2 separate regions of the Homo sapiens genome follow, and region 1 is linked to region 2. The links are contacts of gene promoters, found by promoter capture Hi-C in human tissues and cell types (Jung and others, 2019). All regions are on one chromosome and are shown on one strand. The core of a region is centred on a gene start or on the middle of the fragment in contact, and the rest is flanking DNA. Distances in the headings are between cores, read along the strand shown.

Region 1 (3,586 bases), core at 1,087-3,586, 140 kb after region 2:
AGGTTGAGAAGAGCCCACCTTCCAGGCTCAATGGATGCGTCCATTTGGGTTTCCAGGAATGGGGCCTGGGAAAGTCCATTTTGGATTCCAGGAGGACAGAAATTGCTCAGCTGTTTTAGTCACAGGGAGAGTCCATTTCTAATATGGGAGGGGGGTGCTGTTTGCCCCTGAAGAACATAAAGCAGCCCCATTAAACACAAGAAAAATTATTAATCCCAGGACTTGAAGTTCTTTTTTTTTTTTTTTGAGATGGAGTCTCGCTCTGTCGCCCAGGCTGGGGTGCAGTGGCGCGATCTCAGCTCACTGCAACCTCCGCCTCCCGGGTTCACGCCATTCTCCTGCCTCAGCCTCCCAAGTAGCTGGGACTACAGGCGCACGCCACCATGCCTGGCTAATTTTTTGTGTTTTTAGTAGAGACGGGGTTTCACCGTGTTAGCCAGGATGGTCTCGATCTCCTGACCTTGTGATCCGCCCACCTCGGCCTCCCAAAGTGCTGGAATTACAGGCGTGAGCCACTGCGCCCGGCCTTTTTTTTTTTTCTTTTTTTTGAGACAGAGTCTCTCTCTGTCCCCCAGGCTGGAGTTCAGTGACTCAATCTCGGCTCACTGTAACCTCTTCCTCCCGAGTTAAAGCGATTTTCCTGCCTCAGCCTCCTAAGTAGCTGGGATTACAGGCACCCGTCATCATGCTCGCCTAATTTTTGTATTTTTGTAGAGACAGTGTTTCACTATGTTGGCCAGGCTGGTCTTGAACTCCTAACCTCAGGTGATCCGCCCGCCTCGGCCTCCCAAAGTGCTGGGATTACAGGTGTGAGACACCGCGCCCAGCCAGGAGTTCTTTATTATAGAAAGATTAAGTGTTCCAAGAACTGGAGTCCATTCATGACCAGGAAGAAGTACTTTCTCCCTGGGGATAACAGCATTTAAAATGTCTATTAGCAGTGATGTTTGAACTAGTCTTTTTGAGAAGTGTGAAGAGAACAGGAAAAGTCTGTCCCTAAATAGCAGGGCAGTGCTCGCTTCGACAGCACATGTATTAACATTGGAACGATACAGAGAAGATTAGCATGGGCCCTGCGCAAAGACCACATGCAAATTTGTGACATGTTCCATATATTTTTTAAATACTTTGGGCGGGCGGGGCGCAGTGGCTCACACCTGTAATTCCAATGCTTTGGGAGGCTGAAGTGGGCAGATCACGAGGTCAGGAGTTGGAGACTAGCCTAGCCAACACAGTGAAACCCTGTCTCTACTAAAAATACAAAAAAAAAATTAGATGGGTGTGGTGGCAGGTACCTGTAGTCCCAGCTACTCAGGAGGCTGAGGCAGGAGAATCGCTTGAAACTGGGAGGTAGAGGTTGCAATGAGCCAAGATCACGCCACTGCACTCCAGCCTGGGTGTCAGAGCGAGACTCCATCTAAAAAAAAAAAAAAAAAATTATAGCGGAGCATGGTGGCTCATGTCTGTAATCCCACACTTTGGGAGGCTAAGGCGGGTGGACCATTTGAGGTCGGGAGTTTGAGACCAACTTGGCCAACATGGTGAAACCCGTCTCTACTAAAAATACAAAAATTAGCCGGACATTGTGGCCAGCGCCTGTAGTCCCAGCTACTGGGGAGGCTGAGGCAGGAGAATCGGTTGAACCCCGGGAGGTGGAGGTTGCAATGAGCTGAGATCGCGCCACTGAACTCCAGCCTCCATGACAGAGAGAGACTCTGTCTCAAAAAAAATAAAAAGTATTAAAGAAAATAATAAATAAATAAACGGGGGAGGGGGATACCACCCTCTGTCCTGCCCCAACTCTCTACCTTCCTCTCCTCCCTCACCTTCTACCCTGACCCCGAGGCCCACCGCACCTAGCTTTCTTTTGTTGATCTACCTGTATATTGCCTTTCCCCCGACCCCGACGCCCCATAGAATATGAGACCCTCCAGGTCAGGGTCTGGATCTCAGCCCTCTTCGACCACAGTCTCTCAAACCCCAGCCAATTGTCAAATCCAGGAAGCTACATGAAGAATCAAGAACAAGTGCACAGGGCTGTGTGACCCCACGCTTAGTCTCAGGGAGAGGGAAGTTGGACCTCTCCCAAGAATCCGTGGGCCGACCCATTGTTAAGTTACAGGCTAGCATGAATCCATCCACTGGAGCTCTGAAGACGGGGGGCACATTGGGCATGTAACTAGAATCCTGAACAGGAGGAGTCCACTGAGAACCCTAGGGGAATGACCTGGGCCAGCATCTCTCCCTACCCTGTGCCCCCCACTCACTGGGGCCCAGTGGTTGGGTCCTTTGTGAGGCAGGCTGAGGGGACAGTGGATCCTGAGGGTCTGTGGTCACAGTAGGTAGGAAGTCTCAGAGGAAGGAGCCCCTCCCTGGGAGCCAGACCCCCACACCATGGCGAGCGTGGTGGTGAAGACGATCTGGCAGTCCAAAGAGATCCATGAGGCCGGGGACACCCCCACGGGGGTGGAGAGCTGCTCCCAGCTAGTCCCAGAGGCTCCCCGGAGGGTGACCAGCCGGGCCAAGGGGATCCCGAAGAAAAAGAAGGCCGTGTCGTTCCACGGGTGGGTTTGTTGCACACTGTCAGGGATGGTTCTAATGCCCAGCACTACCTCCAACAGAGCAGGAGTCCGACTGTGGGTGCTAGAGGAAGGGGAGGGGGAAAAGCCAGCAGGTCGGGGGCAGGAAAGAGGGCAGCAGTGAAGAGACATCAAGTCACAGGGAGGTAGAGAGGAAGAAGGTAATGGGGATGGATGGAGGGAGGAAGAAGGTAATGGGGATGGATGGAGAGAGGAAAAAGCCAGTGGGGAGGGAAGAAGGAGAAGGGAGGCTAGTGAATGAAGAAGAAAGTAGGTGGCAGAGAAGGGAGGAGAAAGTAGGCAGCGGGGAAGGAGAAGAAGAAAGTAGACAGTGGTGGTCGGGCACGGTGGCTCACGCCTGTAATCCCAGCACTTTGGGAGGCCGAGGCAGGTGGATCATGAGGTCAGGAGTTCAAAACCAGCTTGGCCAACATGGTGAAAAGCCATCTCTACTAAAAATACTAAAATTAGCTGGGCGTGATGGCACATGCCTATAACCCCAGCTACTCAGGAGGCTGAGGCAGGAGAATTGCTTGAACTGGGACCCGCAGTCGGAGGTTGCAGTGAGCTGAGATCGCGCCACTGCACTCCAGCCTGGGCAACAGAGTGAGACTCTGTCTCAAAAAAAAAAAAAAAAGAAAGAAAGAAAAAAGAAAGAAAGTAGGCAGCACAGGGAAGGAGAATAAAGTAGGCAGCGGGGACAGAGAAGGGAGAAACTTATATACAGTGAGGGTGGAGTCACAGGGGGTGAGGTATGGAGAAAGGAAGGCAGGAGGGCCCAGACACCCTGGGGCTGCTTCTCCACTTTTCTGCCTGTTTCTTCTCTGCAGGGTGGAGCCCCAGATGTCCCATCAGCCCATGCACTGGTGCCTGAACCTCAAACGGTCCTCGGCCTGCACCAACGTGTCACTGCTCAACCTGGCCGCCATGGAGCCCACTGACTCCACGGGGACAGACTCCACAGTGGAAGACCTCAGCGGCCAACTCACACTGGCTGGGCCCCCTGC
Region 2 (2,700 bases), core at 1-2,500:
TTAGGGGCTGGGCACGGTGGCTCATGCCTGTAATCCCAGCCCTTTGGGAGGCCAAGGTGGGCGGATCACGAGGTTAGGAGATCGAGACCATCCTGGCTAACACGGTGAAACCCTGTCTCTACTAAAAATATAAAAAAATTAGCCGGGTGTGGTGGCAGGCGCCTATAGTCCCAGCTACTCGGGAGACTGAGGCAGGAGAATGGCATGAACCCGGGAGGCGGAGCTTACAGTGAGCAGAGATCAAGCCACTGCACTCCAGCCTGGGCAAAAGAGTGACTCCGTCTCAAATAAGTAAATAAATAATACAAAAATTAGCCCGGCGTGGTGGTGGGTGCCTGTAACTCCCAGGTACTCAGGAGAATCACTTGAACCTGGGAGGCGGAGGTTGCAGTGAGCCAAGATCGCGCCACTGCACTCCAGCCTGGGCAACAAAGTTAGACTTCATCTCAAAAAAAAAATTTTAAGTTCTGCATTTTCTTCCCATACCCCAAAGGATCTTGAGCACCCCACTCTGAATAACACAAGTGATTCCATTAAATCAGGAGGCTCTGTGCCCCAAAGCCATGTGAGAAATGGTCCCAACAGGCCTCCTGGGGGAGTCTAGGAGGGATCCCGAGATCGCAGCAGCATCAGCAACCGACTGGGTGCCACCGCGGGTGATGGCTCCATCGTAATTTCAGTTTCCCTTTCCAGGAAGAAAATACACAGATGTGCTTCCTTCCCAGTCCTGACAAATGGCCTTTCCTTAAGTTCCTCATTAATTCATATGAAGACAACACATTTGGTGACTAAATTTGGAATCAGAGGCTTTTAAAGGTGAATCTCAGCTCTTACTGCTTTGCTTTCCCCTGTTTAGGGATAAGAGTGGCAAATGGGGGCTGGGTGTGGTGGCTCATGCCTGTAATCCCGACATTTTGGGGAGGCCAAGGGGAGTAGATTACTTGGGGTCTGGAGTTTGAGACCAGCCTGGGCAACATGGCGAAACCTCGTCTCTACAAAAATACAAAAATTAGCCTGGCGTAGTGGCTCCTGCCTGTAGTTTCAGATACTTGGAGGCTGAGGTGGGAGGATCACATGAACCTGGGAGGCAGACATTGCAGTGAGCCGAGATCGTACCACTGCACTCCAGCCTGGGTAACAAAAGTGAGACCCTGTCTCAAAAAAAAAAAAAAAAAAAAAAAAAACCCAGCACATATAACAGTATAATATGTAGTCAAACCATGAGGGAATGATGACTTTTTATTCTTTTTTAGTAAAAACTAATCATCAATACAATTTATTTTTTAGTAATGAGTGGCTTGCAAAGCAAAAACTCCTGAAAATGTAAATCAGCTCTTATGACCTGGTATGACTCAGCTTCAGCACACCACTGCTCCCAAGTTTTCAGTAAACCCCAAAAATGTCAGGGTGCTTTAAAAATCTGCCCCTCAGACTCAGGGCAGCGGCTCTCCACAGAACCTCCCAGGGAGCAAAGCCCTCACGCTCGGAAGCGAGGTCTGCTTCTTGCACAGCAGCCAGCCCCCCAGCCAGGTTTCAGTGACCCCGGCTGTTCCCCTGCCTGTCCCACAGGACCACACCCTTGGCTTCTGCACACCAGGGCCCTGGTGACTTCAAACACAGTGACCCACATGGGCGCCCTTGTCCCGTCTCCCCTCCAGACACCATCAGGTTGAACCCTCTCAGACGCCAAAGGTTTCCCGAGGCAAGAAGCAGACCGGGTGCGCTGCCGTGATGGGGACTAGCCTGGTGCCCTGGGGTCACCTCAGATACCCTAGTTCCCTTGAATCCACAGAACTGATAGTGACACTTACTGACCAAGACAATGTCACTCAAATGCAATATGGACTGTGATTTGCATCTTGACAAACCAACCGTTTTTTGTTTTGTTGTTGTTTTTTTTTTCAGAGAGTCCTGCTCTGTTGCTCAGGCTGGCGTGCAGTGGTGTGATCTCGGCTCACTGCAATCTCTGCCTCCCGGGTTCAAGCGATTCTCCTGCCTCAGCCTCCTGAGTAGCTGGGACTACAGGCGTGCACTACCACACCCAGCTAATTTTCGTATTTTTAGTAGAGACAGGGTTTTACCATGTTGGCCAGGATGGTCTTGATCTCCTGACCTTGTGATCCACCTGTCTCGGCCTCCCAGAGTGCTGGGATTACAGGCATGAGCCACCACACCTGGCCTTTTTTTTTTGAGATGCAGTCCCGCTCTGTCGCCTAGGCTGGAGTGGCATGATCTCAACTCATAGCGACCTCTGCCTCCCAGGTTCAAGTGATTCTCCTGCCTCAGCCTCCTGAGTAGCTGGGATTACAGAGGTGCCCGCCACCACGCCTGGCTAATTTTTGTATTTTTAGTAGAGATGGGGTTTCACCATGTTGCCCAGGCTGGTCTTGAGCTCCTGACCTCAGGTGATCCGCTCACCTCGGCCTCCCAAAGTACTGTGATTGCAGGTGTCAGCCACCATGCCCGGCCTAAACTGTTTTTTTGTTTTGTTTTGTTTTGTTTTTCAGTGATGAGCTATTCCAGGAAACGTGAACATTGATTTAATGATATTAAGAAATGGCTGCCATCCGGAGCTTGCAGTGAGCCGAGATCGTGCCACTGCACTCCAGCCTGGGCAACTGAGCGAGACTCCATCTCAAAAAAAAAAAAAAAAAAGAAATGGCTGCCATCTTAAAATATGATAATGATATTGTAGTTTTT

The links. The method cuts DNA at HindIII sites, captures the fragments that hold promoters and counts their contacts. A contact is called where the count stands out against the background at its distance.
Region 1: a contact is called between the fragment with the promoter of TSKS here and a fragment that was not itself captured in region 2, in 1 of the 25 tissues and cell types used here (pancreas).

The regions. Positions count from the first base shown.
Region 1 is chr19:49,762,056-49,765,641 of GRCh38, reverse strand. TSKS (testis specific serine kinase substrate) reads left to right here and starts at 2,336. Exons shown (of 11, transcript NM_021733.2): 1 at 2,336-2,564; 2 at 3,410-3,586. The coding sequence starts at 2,395. It also overlaps the pseudogene RNU6-841P. RefSeq lists an enhancer at 3,583-3,586. The HindIII fragment of the contact is 39,317 bases long and covers 1-3,586 here.
Region 2 is chr19:49,902,315-49,905,014 of GRCh38, reverse strand. It overlaps a transcript of IL4I1 not described here. Among named protein-coding and RNA genes, the nearest start is that of IL4I1, 6.8 kb to the right of the region's middle. The HindIII fragment of the contact is 8,874 bases long and covers 1-2,700 here.